Linked DNA regions of Homo sapiens: regions 1, 3 and 4 are each linked to region 2. The links are contacts of gene promoters, found by promoter capture Hi-C in blood cells and fetal thymus (Javierre and others, 2016). All regions are on one chromosome and are shown on one strand. Each heading gives the region's core, a stretch centred on a gene start or on the middle of the fragment in contact. The rest is flanking DNA. Distances are from core to core; before and after follow the strand shown. Region 1 has its middle 270 kb from the start of MYT1L. Region 2 holds the start of RPS7 (ribosomal protein S7). Region 3 has its middle 360 kb from the start of MYT1L. Region 4 has its middle 310 kb from the start of MYT1L.

Evidence for each region. Contacts are between HindIII fragments. The CHiCAGO score rates a contact against its expected background, and 5 or more counts as called.
Region 1: a fragment that was not itself captured here is called in contact with the fragment with the promoter of RPS7 in region 2 in 2 of 17 cell types (naive CD8 T cells and activated CD4 T cells); the score reaches 6.8 in naive CD8 T cells.
Region 3: a fragment that was not itself captured here is called in contact with the fragment with the promoter of RPS7 in region 2 in 5 of 17 cell types (fetal thymus, naive CD4 T cells, non-activated CD4 T cells and 2 more); the score reaches 18.9 in fetal thymus.
Region 4: a contact is called between a fragment that was not itself captured here and the fragment with the promoter of RPS7 in region 2, in 5 of 17 cell types (fetal thymus, naive CD4 T cells, naive CD8 T cells and 2 more). The highest score is 12.4, in fetal thymus.

Annotation. Positions count from the first base shown.
Region 1 is chr2:2,598,509-2,601,624 of GRCh38, reverse strand. No RefSeq gene overlaps it. Among named protein-coding and RNA genes, the nearest start is that of MYT1L, 270 kb to the right of the region's middle. The HindIII fragment of the contact is 5,035 bases long and covers 1-3,116 here.
Region 2 is chr2:3,573,714-3,577,195 of GRCh38, reverse strand. RPS7 (ribosomal protein S7) reads right to left here and starts at 1,936. Exons shown (of 7, transcript NM_001011.4): 1 at 1,846-1,936; 2 at 1,512-1,604; 3 at 1,308-1,379; 4 at 566-709. The coding sequence starts at 1,586. It overlaps LOC124907726 (a long non-coding RNA gene), which reads left to right and starts at 2,087. Exons shown (of 2, transcript XR_007086196.1): 1 at 2,087-3,061. RefSeq lists a silencer at 1,390-1,679 and enhancers at 1,231-1,807, 1,808-2,383. The HindIII fragment of the contact is 5,628 bases long and covers 1-3,276 here.
Region 3 is chr2:2,684,990-2,688,259 of GRCh38, reverse strand. No RefSeq gene overlaps it. Among named protein-coding and RNA genes, the nearest start is that of MYT1L, 360 kb to the right of the region's middle. The HindIII fragment of the contact is 1,672 bases long and covers 525-2,196 here.
Region 4 is chr2:2,643,055-2,646,522 of GRCh38, reverse strand. No RefSeq gene overlaps it. Among named protein-coding and RNA genes, the nearest start is that of MYT1L, 310 kb to the right of the region's middle. The HindIII fragment of the contact is 6,388 bases long and covers 1-3,468 here.

The DNA of each region.
Region 1 (3,116 bases), core at 366-2,865, 980 kb after region 2:
GTCGCTGCTTGGAAAGGGAAGAGAAGAGAGGAGCGTGTTGATTTAGGGAAGTTAGGTCAGTGTCATGAATGCAGTGTTTCTCCACGCAGGGCCTTCAGACCAGTGGCCACATTTGGCCTCACCTGGAAAGGAGTTAGAAACGTAAATTATCAGGCCCCACCCCATACCTGAATCAGAAGCTCTTGGGGTGCGGCTCAGCATTCCCCAGGCCCTCCAGGTGATTACGGTACATGTTCAAGCTGAGAAATCACAGGTCTCGTGCAAAGGGCTCCTGGCGTCCGGCGGAATCTCAGCTCTGCCTCTTGTTGCCTATGTGCGCCCCCAGATTACTCCACTTCGTCAAGTCTGACTTTCTTTCTATGTAAATGGAGACAATTAAGCCTACCTTGGCAGGGTGCTATTAAATATGTTATATATTATGTTAAATACGTTTCATAGGAAATTATGTCTTGTATGTGAAGTAGGATGTCAAATGGTAATTTTCCTGCCTCGATGTCAATGGAAGCATCCATCTGGCAGCTATCAGACATCCAGGAGAGGGGGAAACCCTCTAAGCAGACTCAACAAAGGAAATCACTCAGAATAACTCCTCCACTCCCGAACTTCCTCACCCACTCTGAATACACAATTGCTGGGCTGGGGGGAAAGGAAAAGGTGTGAAGAAATGTTTTAGCATTATTTTGTGTCTCCAGTCCTGGTGAGAGGGAACTTCAAAGTCTATGTCCCCTGCAGCTGACAAGAGAGTCTCCTGGTGTCTGCCTCTGCTGGAGGACGCCATTCAGCCTCTTGCTGCTGTGTTGAGAGGGGTCTGCACACTCCTGGAGTTTATTGAAGTAAGGATTGGATAAGAGTTTAACATGCTGTGTGGGGAAGAGAGACCTGAGAGCAGGTTGCCGACAGATCTCTCCAGAAGTTCTGCCAAGGGGGGCAGAGGGACCCAGCGCCAAGAAGTTGGTGGAGGACACACACTCACTGGGAACCGTGGGAGGAGTCATACAGCCTCCCACAAGAGAGATTCATCTACCGGGTCAGAGGCACGGCAGGAGAGAAGCCACAGCAAAGCTAATTTTCAAAAAACACTCAGAAGTGTCCGTGAGAGAAAGAATCTGTTTCAAAAATCTGCCACAGAGAGTGGAAGGCCAGCTTATAACAGCATGAGCGTAACAAGAATGCTTCTGTCCTTCATCTTGCTTCTCCGGGCTCCAACATGGGAGAGGGCCCAGCAAACTAAAAGCTGGGTGTAGGAGGAGGGAGAAGGGCTGGAAGAGAAACAGGGAAGCTAAATGCAGGCTTCTTTTCCACTCCAGGCCAAGCCACAGCAGCACAGGAGACTGTGCTGTGAAATCAGATTCACAGCTTTGATTCATATTTGCTCTCAACGATCTAACTTTTGAATTGAGACTCTGTGATTTAAGTTACCCTAACATTGTCTAGTACCTAAAAATGAATAAAATAGACAAAGAGAGGTTTTTTTTGGGAAAAATATTTTCACTGAAAAACTCTTAAAGGACCAAATGCTAACCATTGAGCTGCGTTCTAGTTGATTATGACATGAGTTATGCTTGCTCAGTACACACAAGGGCATACCCACATACATACATTAGATGCTAGTGCCTCAGTGATATTATCTGTTAACTTTCATTAGAAAGAAGAGCACTGGACTCCTTTTAGAATCAGTAAGATTTTATTATCAGATTTTACTGGTCTAAGTTTAAAGACAGGTTTAACACAACACAATATTTTAAAAAACACTAAGATGAAGCAACACAAATTTCTGGCAGCAGTGGTGTTTTCATAGATTCACAGAACGAGAGGGCTCTGAAGTGGCTGAGAGATCTGCAGGTGATGCCATGATTAGCTCAGAGATGCTCAAGGCTGGAAAAGGCCTAATGGCCAGGGCCTTTACACAACTTCTGTGTTCCATGTTCCGTGTTCCTCCTTCCACAGCTTCTGGGGGCACCATCACGGGGCTGACTTCGGGGGTGGTCCCCCTGCCTTTTGAGTGCACAGTCAGTGTGGCCATGGACAGTGTCCCTGTAAATGTCTCTCAAAGCCCAGACCCGCTGAATTTAAATCCCTTCGAAATGGTAATGCAATATGTTTGAACGCTCCTTGTAACAGAGAACCCTCTGCTTCTCATGGAGATCATCCTGCTTATGATTAGGATCACGAAGACATTTTCACTTACACAATTGGAAAATTGGAGTTTCTTGCTGCTTATCTTAGCTGCAATCTACAAGGCCACACGGAGCAAATCTGTCCTCTTTTTATGGCAGTCTTTCAGTAATTTGGGGAAAGCTACTGAGATCTTCTTGAGTCTAGTTTCTTCAACACTTTCCCATCTGAATGATTTCTTCCATCCTTCCCACTCTGATCTAAACACGTGCTGGTGTATATTAGAACTAGAAGACCATTCTTAGAGTAAAGTCAATGCTCCAAAAAACCCAATTGCCGCTGCTTTGCTTTAGATAAACCAAAAAAAATTAAGATCCAGTGAGGATGTCGACATGTCTAAAACCATGCACTTTGTTAGCTGCAGTAAGATGTCCATCTCCAGGGTTTTCCCACTGTGCCATCCTTCCTCCAAGGTGCAAGACTATGGCTTCAACATCTCTGCTATTTTTGTTGACAGGGAATGCCTTTTCCCAGTGTGTATATTTCTGCTTCTTGCTGTGTTTGGGGTGGTTGCTGCTGAGGTTGTTACTGAGTCCAAACAGACCACAGCATGAGCCAAGCATCCAAGGGCCAACTTTCCCTAGAAAGACTCACAACGGAGTGCAGGTAACACTGACTGTCAAGGCAGTTGGTGTGGACTGATGGGTGAAGGGGCATTCCCTCTACATGGAACAATCACGTGCGTCTAAGGCAGCTCAAGCTCAACGCGCTGAATTTAGTAACTCGGTGAAAGCAGTGAGCATCACTCAAAGCTATAGAGTACTAAGGAGTTTTGAAATGCATCATTCCATTTAAGTATTTTAATTACACCATAAATCAATGTATAAGGATGGGTTGAGAGATAGCTGTTGATTTGTTGAGTATTTACAAATTGCCTACTGTGTGCTGGTACCACCAGGCAAATTCACATTTAGTCCTTACAGTAAAACTCAGATGTCAGT
Region 2 (3,482 bases), core at 687-3,186:
CCCAGCTAATTTTTTGTATTTTTTAGTACAGACGGGGTTTCACCGTGTCAGCCAGGATGGTCTCGATCTCCTGACCTCGTGATCCGCCTGCCTCAGCCTCCCAAAGTGCTGGGATTACAGGAGTGAGCCACAGGGCCCGGCCTGTAACAGGTTTCTTAGTTTGATCATCTATGTAAGCAACCCACTAGACTTGTGGAAATTTAAATATGGGAAATCATTTTCATAACTCAAAACACAGCAGTCTGTCACTTTACAGACTTCTTGTTTCGACTCTTAATTAAAGAACGTACTTTATCTTTCTTTTTAAAACTTATTTTTTCTATTTTTTGTAGACAGGGTCTTACCATGTTGCCCAGGCTGGTCTCTACAGTGATCCACCCGCCTCCACCTCCCCGTGCTGGGATTACAGGCCTAAGCCACGGCGCTCTGCCTGTACTTTATCTTTCTACCCAATTGGATTCATAAAAGGATTGTTTTCATGACTCCAACTACCAATGCAGTCTAAATACAAGCAATTTTAGCAAAATTCACAAACAGAAACGTGCTGCAACAGTAGAACAGATACCTGAGCGATAAAGACGACATGCTTCCCACTGAACTTTTTCTCCAATTCGCGTACTAGCCGGACTTGGATTTTCTGGAAAGATTTCAGTTGAGGAACGGGAACAAAGATTATGATAGCTTTCCGACCACCACCAACTTCAATTTCCTAAAGAAAAAAACAAAAATCCACTGTGTTAACTGCTTCAGAAAGTAAACGTTGTGGTCAAATTAGAGGATAAGAAGACCTTATCACTAACACCGTAGCTGCACTACAAACTAATACTAGTTTTGAGTTAATCATAAATGCATCCTTCGGAAATGTTCTCATCTCTCTCCAACCTTCACATTTCCTTATTCCAGGAAGGGAGACTGTTCAGGCCAGGAGGCCAATCACTACCACTTCTGCACCCCCACTTGCGGCAACTCCGGGCTAAGGGTAGAGAGAATCTCATCCTGAGCTCCCCACAGCTCTTTGCCGTATCTATAACTAAGTAAGGGCAAATAAGGTCCGAAATGGGCCCAGGCCCTCCCTACTCCACGTTTCTCCACCGCCCGCATGTGGACAGCTTAAGCCGCAGGGTACCTGCAACCCCACTCCCCGCACCTGGGCGGTATCACTCCCAAACAACACGGCCGAACCTGAGTTCAGGTTAGGCGGCCAGGCGGCAAGTCATCATCAACCGTAACCCAGGTCCAACCCTCTCAGGCACTGCGCGGGGAGACGCGCCGCAACCTCCCTCCCAGCCGAGGGAGCGCCAGCTTACCTTAGCTGCCGTAATATTCAGCTCCCTGAGCTGAGCCTTGAGGTCCGAGTTCATCTCCAGCTCCAGAAGAGCCTAAGAAGCAACGAACAGCAGGACCGACCCTGAGCGCGCGTCCGAGCACCCCGGGCCCAACACACGCGCGGCCGCCTCCCCTCCCGGGCGGGGCGCCTCCCCCCACCCCAGACCCCAGGGAAACCCTCTCACCTGGGAGATGCCGGACTCGAACTCGTCCGGCTTCTCGCCATTGGGCTTCACGATCTTGGCGCTCGAACTGAACATGGCTTTCTCCTGGGAGAACTGAAGGCACAGCGGTCAGCGTTACGCGGCCCGGGCTGCAGGCGCCGCTGGCTCGCCCTCCCGCCCGCACCCCCCGGCCAGGCCCCGCTCGCCCCGCAGAAGCCATCGGAAAGCACAGGGCGGGTAATCGGCTGTATCCCCACCCTGTGAGCAAGGCTCGCCCCTCCAGGGCCTGACTCCAAAAGGCGTTTTCCTCAACCCAAGAAGAAAAGTTCTGTCGGAGAGCAGGCCGCCAACCTACCTTGCCGAGCGCCGGCTTAGGAAGAGACCCAAATCTCGCGAGAGCACGTCAAAATCCGGCGTCCGAAGGCAAGAGGCGGAAACAGCGCGAGGAGGAGGGCGGAAACCGGAACATCACTGAGAAGCGGTAGGAGGCTAGAGAGTCCCAGGAAGCGGCTCTGGGGACGAGTGTCTTGGTAACGCTTTTCCGCCCTAGGATTCGTACTTTGGTGCCGTTTCCGAGCGTTCCGGTACCGGCTCCCAAGGTTCCCGTCTTCAGTGCAGGTTGCAGGCGGGAACCGGCCTCGTCCCAGCCCTGGGCCTGGGAGAGAGAAGGAGGCCGAAGAAAACCAACTTCGGCAACCTCCGGAGACAGGACGTTTAAAAAAGGCTAACTTGGCTGGGCGCTGAGGCTCACGCCTGTAATCCCAGCACTTTGGGAGGCCGAGGCAGGAGGATCACTTGAGCTCAGGAACCAGCCTGGGCAACATGGCGAGACCCCATGTCTACAAAAAAAAAAAAAAAAAAATTAGCCAGTCATGGTGGTGCGCGCCTGCAGTCCCAGCTACCCCGGAGGCCGACGCGGGAGGATCGCTGGAGCCGAAAGGTCGAGGCTGCCGTGAGCCGAGGTTGCACCACTGCACTCCAGCCTGGGCGACAGCGCAAGACCCTGTCTAAAAATAAATTTAAAAAAAATTGCGAGGCCTTCATTCTATGCTAGTACTGTACTAGGTGCTAATTATTAAGTAAAACCGACTGAACTCTTGCCCTCATGGAGCTTACAGTTCAGTGGAGAAGACATTACCTAAAGCAGTATGACTAAATATATAATGACATATTGTAATAACTTACATAACAGTACAATGAGAGGGTGGGGAGGGATTATTTATGCTTTAAGAAGTCGGGAATCCTGGAACGGAATGACATTAGACTGAGACACGGAAGAGCCGCAGGATCTATTGCTGGGGAAGAGCATTCCAGACAGGGAGGAACTCGTGCCGAATGATCCCGCTGTGGACAGGGAATTTAATCTGAGCTTCGGTTTCCTCTTCTGTCAAATGTCATGCAAGAGTTACTTTCAGCCGTGGTCCAGGCACTGTGAAAAATGCAGAAGCCACACTAGGTGCCCTCTCTCAGGATTCCCAACCACCTTTACCAAGCAGAGATGGTATTCATCCCACATTTTTAATGCTAGATATGCTCCCGCCCGGTGCTTCTCTAATAATGTTTTTTAAAAGGTAAGTGACTGTCTCCTTGGAAAATTAAGGATAACTTGAAGTTTCTTCCAGATAGAAAGTAAACTACAGCTGCGTCTACAATCTCATCTGGGCAGTCGTTCTGAGCCCTTTTGTCGAACTAGGTCCATTTCCTTACTCCACATGCACTTTTCGACCTGGCTTTTATCTCTGCTGCTCTATAAAAGTAGTAATCTAAAAGTTCATCCAGTAAAGCTTTTTCTCTGTGAACCTATCACTTGAGAACAAAAAAAATTAAAGTTATTTCTGGTTTCCAGTCCTTTGTTGAATAGGAGTGGTGAGCAAGGACATCCGTGCCTTGTTCTCCATCTTAGGGGAAAACCATTCAGTCTTTCACCATTAAGTATAATATTAGCTCTAGGATTTTGCAGGTATTTTTAATCAAATTCAGGAAGTTCCCTCT
Region 3 (3,270 bases), core at 111-2,610, 890 kb after region 2:
CAGGGTGCATTCCCCTCTAGAAGCTCGACTGTGAAAGAATCCACCTCCATGCTCACATAGGTGGTTGCAGAATCCATCTCCTAGTGTTTGCAGGATCACTGGCCCCAGGTCCTTGCTGTCCATCATTTGGAGGACACCCTCAGTTCCTCGAGGTCATTCTCAGCTCCTAGAGGTCATCCGCAGTTCCTTGCTGGCAGGTCTTTCTTGCTTCATCAAGCCAGCAAGGAGAACCTCCAGTGTGAGTCTCCTGGAGAGGCGGCATCCAGGGTAGTGCAGTGTGATCACAGGCATGGTGTCCCTAACCCCTGCAACTGGCACATTCTGCTGAGTAGAAACCAGCCGCAGGTCCCATCCACCCTCACAGGGGAGGAGAGGCTGCCAGGGTGACAGTGCCAGGAGGGGACTGCCAGGACCCCCTTAAAGCCTGGGCTCCAATCCTGACAAACGTCCATCCTCAGGACATGCAATTCTAACTCTCATAGTTAGGTTTTCAGTTGCAATAATATATTTTAAAATATCAAGCTTCTTTTGAGTTTTACTCCTAAAAAATCTGAATAACCTCTTTTAATCTAAACAATTTTTCCTGCTAATTGTTAGTTTTATTCTACTAAAATTTGTCCAGTAGCATGTTTTCATGCACCATGTAAAGACAATTTTTTGAAGAGGACTCTCTCTCCCATAAGCTCCTGATCAGCTGGGGGTGACAGGACATCAAGGAGCTGTTTGTTCCCCCAGGATCCTGCCTCTGTCTCCAAGGCTGGGAGGTAGGTGGGGCCTCTCGAAGGCCTGCTGAGGAGGGAGGCGGGCCTGTGGGCTTGAGTGGTTGGCAGAGTGCGGGGGGTGGGGGGCCTGAGACGGATACATCAAACTGTGGGTCATTTATCTGTACTAATTATGTCATCAGAAATGCAGGTGAAAAAGGATGCATGAAGATAGTTTATTTTTATTTTTTAGTTTAAGTTCCAGGATACATGTGCAGAGCGTGCAGGTTTGTTACATAGGTTAACGTGTGCATTGTGGTTTGCTACACCCACTGACCTGTCCTCGAAGTTCCCTCACCTCGCCCTCCATCCCCCAGCAGGCCCTGGTGTGTGTTTATAAGGATGATTTCCTTCTCCCTAGCAAGACTTCCATGTGACAGGTGGAGGCCTCTTCCCACGGCCAGGCCCCTGCTTGCAGCTCTTCTCACTCCTGGCTCCTGCCTTCTCCAGGGCCCACGCTGGCTCCTGCATCCTCCACCTCAGTCACCCTGGGCCCCTTCCTGCAGGCACATCATGTGCTTATGTCTCTCCCACTTAAACAGCACATTAAAAAGTAAGAACAGGGCCACATGCGGTGGCTCAAGCCTGTAATCCCAGCACTTTGGGAGGCTGAGGCGGGCGGATACCCTGAGCTCAGGAGTTCAAGACCAGCCTGGGCAACATGACGAAACCCGTCTCTTCCAAAAAAAATACAAAAAAAAAAAAAGAAAAAGTAAAGTAAGAACATTTCTTGGTTCCCTTGCCCGCTCCAAGTGCTGCTTATTTCTTCTCTTCACATCCTTCCTTCCTGAAAGAATCATCTATCTTCTTCCTCTTCATCTGCTATCTCCCCTCAGATGGAGTCCCTGCCGTCCTCTCTGCCTTCCTCTTCTGTTCTTCCTTCATCCCACGTTTCCCTGAGCTCAGCGATGTCCTCTTTGATGGTAAAGGAAGCAGATACAACCCAGCCTTGGTTTTGCTTGGTCCGTCTCTGCACTGGACATAGGAGAGCTTGACCTGCCCTTTTCCTAGACCTCCCAGCTGCTCCTCTGCATCCCGTCCCTCCTGGCTGCTGCGGCTGTTTCCTTTGCAGGCTTTGGCTCCTCACGTGACCACTTCCTGTGCTCTCTCTGCATACATCTGCCACAGTTTTTATAAGTGTTCTTGTGTGATTAGACAATTCTGTTATAATATATAATTTTGCTAATGTAAAACATCAAATCTTCGTGTCTCGATGATCTCATCAGAATGAGCCTGCCTGGGTTCTCTGTGCTTTCCAGCCTCTGCTCCTCGCCCCTTTCCCTCTTCTCCGAATCCCCTTTCTAGACAACCTTCCCTAATCCCCCCAGTAGAGAATGATCCTTTCTTCTCTGAATTTTCTTCACCTTTCTATCAGACTTTCTTATGTCTTTTGTCACTTTTAACCTTGTTTTACATATTTTCATCTGTATAAGCTTCTCAGAGGCAGTGGGAGATGTATTCATCTTTGTGGCCCTATGTAAAATCTAACAAGTCATTTAAAGGGAAAGAATGTCTGCCCCACACTCTACCCCTAGAGACAGCACCTGCCCACACCTTACCCTCTATTTCCTTATGTGCAAAATGGAAATAGAACACCCATTTTTAGGTCTAATGTAATGAGGAGATAGCACACACATAGAATTACTAACATAATGTCTGGTACATTTAAGAATTCAATAGACACAGCAACTGCTATTATTATCATTAGGAACAGGAGGTAAGAATATTTGTTAAATGAATAAATGAATAATTGTATCAAGAAATTCCTTAAGATAGGAAGGAAACAAAGCGAAGTAGGTGAACAAACAAATCAAAAAGCAGCCAGCCACCCGGCCAATCCATTTAACTTCCTTCTGTTCTATGACATAAGCCACACAATAGCAACTCTTAAACATGTCTGTGTATTGGAAGTAACAGTGTCTTATATTAACTCATTAGGGATCCCTGCTGCTGTGGTTTGAACAGTCCCTCCAAAACTCAAGTTAAAATTTAATTGCCCTTGTGATGTATTAGAGGTGGGACTATCAAGAGGTGATTAGGCCTCATGAGGGGATCAATGTCTACATGGCAGGAGTGTGATCCTGAAAAAAGTGAGGTCAGCCCCCTCTTACCCACCCTTATTCTCTGAGTGCTCTTTTGCCCTTCTGCCTTCCACCCTGGGATGACGCAACAGCAAGACCCTCACTAGATGCTGGCACCGTGTCCTTGAACTTTCCAGCCTCCAGAACTGTAAGCAATCAATTATTTTTCTTTATAAATTACCCAGTCTGTAATATTATGTTACAGCAGCACAAAACGGACCAAGACAACTTCAAAAGCCTAAAGATCTCTATCATTTCCTCTGCCCTAAAAAAGACGGGGGGAGGGTGTCAAGTCTTTTGGTGGCAGATGTTAGAGATTTTCGAGCTTTAAAATAAAAAGAATTAGAAATTATCCAAAATTTAAGTTGAGGTTTATTTTTATCCCTATGGATTTAGATTCAAATCTGGACTTGCAAATTAAACTAGTG
Region 4 (3,468 bases), core at 879-3,378, 930 kb after region 2:
CAGCCTCCCCCGCACCCTCCCTGTTACCTCCTGGAGACAAGATGCGTAGGTGTGACGAGTGCAAAGCCTTCTGTCACACCCTTCTTCAGTGCATTAATTAAAGCTCTTCAGGCTCATCCTTCCCTAACTTTTAAACTCAAGGGTCATTCACAGACTTCAACAACTGAAATTCAACAATTTTTTCCCAAAGTAAACAATAATTATCCAACTTAAAGTTGAATTAAATAAACTAAACTTACAGAAAACTTGCATTCCACATTAACCCAGGGATTATCCATTCATCAGTTTCTTGAGCACCATCTATGCCATGCGAGGTTCTGTGTGAGGCTTGTGTGGGGTAAATAATAGAATAACCCCCAGGGTCTCTGCACTCACACATGCCCTGGATGCGAGGGGGTCGGTGCCAGGTGTGTGAAGCAGCAGAATAAACCCACCAGATGGTCTACACTGGCACCTTGTATGCTAACAGGAGTTCGGCTCAGTTTTCTGCTGTGTGACTTCGGGTAAATCACAGAGCTTTAAAACCATGGTTTCCTCACTTTTGAATAAAAAAACACAGAATACCCATCCACCTGTATTAGTTAGGATGAGTATAACTGCTATAGAGCTGAATTCCTATAACTCCTATAGGAAACCTGATTTCAGTGGCTTGGCAACACTGAGGTCTGTTTCTCACCATGGTCAGAGCCAACTGAGGCAAGCAGGTGCCACGGGTACAGAATGAAGGTGAGGCCACCTGACCCTGCGGGGTGCAGAATGAAAGTAAGGCCACCTGACCCTGCGGGGTCCAGAGAGGGCTCCTGCTCACAGTGTGCCCCTGGAAGCCTCCTTGACCCCCGCCCTGGCTGTGTCTCGCGTTGCAGGAGAATGGTGATCAGCAGGGCCCTTCCATGTGGTGGCTCCTCCCGCCGGTCCTCAAAGGGTTCCCCCATCAGCCCACTGGGGAGGAAATTCAGGCTCATAGGGGCCTCTCAGGTTCATGGCTGGAAGTGGGGCTGGGCTCTCGGCTCACATTCCGGTGACCAGAGCTCCACCTTGCAGCCCAAGGGGGCTGGAGATACGAGCCCAGCTGTGTGCCCAGGAAGGAGGGGAGAGCGTGGATGCTGGCGAGCCCCATGGCCTCTGATCAGTGTCCTTTCTCACAAGGTTGTACAAGAGACACTTAGACAATGTGTGGAAGAGTTCTGTCAACTCCACAGCCTGCGCCATGCAGGCGCTGCTACCGTGTTCAGCCCTGGTCCTTTCCATGTCAGGCAGAACGGCCGAGTGCTGTGTGGGAGCCACACAGAGATCTGGGAGCACACAAGGTGCAGGCAGCCGAGGAGGCCAGGTTTTCTGAAGGCAGTGGGTGGAAGGGTGGACAGGGTGGCCAGAGGTGGAGGGGAGGTGGTGGCTAGAACGGCGGACAGGGTGCCCAGAGGTGGAGGGGAGGTGGTGGCTAGAACGGCGGACAGGGTGCCCAGAGGTGGAGGGGAGGTTGTGGCTGGAATGGCGGACAGGGTGCCCAGAGGTGGAGGGGAGGTTGTGGCTGGAACGGCGGACAGGGTGCCCAGAGGTGGAGGGGAGGTGGTGGCTGGAACGGCGGACAGGGTGCCCAGAGGTGGAGGGGAGGTGGTGGTTGGAATGGTGGACAGGGTGCCCAGAGGTGGAGGGGACATGGTGGTTGGAATGGTGGACAGGGTGCTCAGAGGTGGAGGGGAGGTGGTGGCAAGAGCTGCTCTCACAGGATGCAGTCCCAGGGGCTCTGAGCCCAGAGGACAGGGCACAGCCACGTGCTCCTCTCAATCCACACCTGCTCCTGAGCTCAGCTCAGCGATCTCCCACCCCAGGTTCTCCTCCAGTCTGGTCATTGGTGGCTTTTAGCTTGCAGCTCCTGCCTATCTCTGCCCGCTTCTACTTCACCAAGTCTCCGAGAAGAGGCCTGACCAGGCAGGAATCCCTGTGGAAGACTGAGGAGGGGAAGAGCTTGTGTGGCCAGGCCACAGCCTCCAGAGCAGGCGGGGAACTCCGGGACGCTCTGCTGCTGCTGTTGTGGTGGTGGTGTTGTGTTGTGTAGTGTTGTGTTGTTGTGTTATTGTTTTTCTGTTGTGCAGTTGTGTTGTTGTGATTTTGTGTGGTGGTGTGGTTCTGTGATTGTGTTTTGTTCTGTCATTGTGTGGTTGTGTTGTGATGTTGTGATGGTGTGTGATAAGGTTGTGTCATTGTTGTGTGGTTGTGTTGTTGTGTGCTCTGCCACTGGTGGTGGTGGTGGTGTAGTGTGGTTGTGTGGTTGTTCTGCTGTGTGGTTGTGTTGTGATGTGGTGGTATTGTGTGGTGTGGTTGTGTTGTGTGGTTGTGTTGTTGTTGTGTGGTTGTGTCCTCTGTCACTGGTGGGAATGTAATATGGTGGTGGTGTGTGGTTGTTGTTCTGCTGTGTGGTTGTGTTGTGATGTTGTGTTGCGGTGGTGGTGGTGTGTGGTGTGGTTGTGTGGTTGCATGGTTGTTGTGTTGTCGTGTGCTCTCTCACTGGTGGGAATGTAATGTGGTGGCGGTGGTGGTGTGTGCTGTTGTTGTGTTGTGATGTTGTGTTGTTGTGGTGGTGTGTGGTTGTTGTTGTGTTGCTGTGTGCTCTGTCGCTGGCGTTAGTGTAATATTAGGGCAAGAAGTTAAGGATGCCACCTGGACAGGTTCTGCTTCACGGCTTGCTGGGGCCTCAGCCGGGTCGGGGCTGGCAGCAACCCCTGTGCCTAGGCTGGGCCTCCTGCATTCCCTCTGCTGGGACCAGATTCTCTCGAGTTGGCACCAAGTCAGACAAGGGGAGACAGCCCAGGGGCCCACGGGCTGGAGGAGGCCCCAGTCCAGCTGCTGAAACCCTGGTGCTCCAGGACGTCTGGTGGCCAACGTGGGCTGACATTGACCCCGGTGATGTCGTCCAGCCTGGCTTGCTTACTGTGGCCTGAGCTTCCTGGGCATGCGACAGAATGACCTGACATTCCCTGATGTCTATGCCCAAGAAGGGGCTGGATGGACCCCTGGGTCCCTTCCCAGTGACAGAAAGAGGCACCAAACCCCAGAGCACAGCCAGCCTCTAGCATGGGGCACAGAGCATCTGGCGCAGACACAGCGGCTGGTGGGCATCCGGGGCTGGCAAGTCAGGACTCAGCCTCTTACGGCCAAAGTGCCTCCTCCGCCAGAAGCCAAGCTGTTCAGTGTAAGGAAATGTGACAGCAGAGATCCCCAGTGTCGTGCCAGTCCCACGCCTGCTCAGCACCATGGCAATCAAATTTCACACCACGTGGCTCAGTCTTGCCCTGCTTGTGAGCCCACTGCGATCAAGGTGCAGCTGCGTGGGAGCCCATTTCTCAGCGCTGAGGGGTTAAGGTTTGGCCTCTGTGTGCCGCCTGTTCCCTGCATCCTGGGCTGCCCTCGTTCCCCCAGGACGGCGAGTCCTGTGTCGGCCTGGTGGCCTCTCAGGTCTGTCTCTGGCTG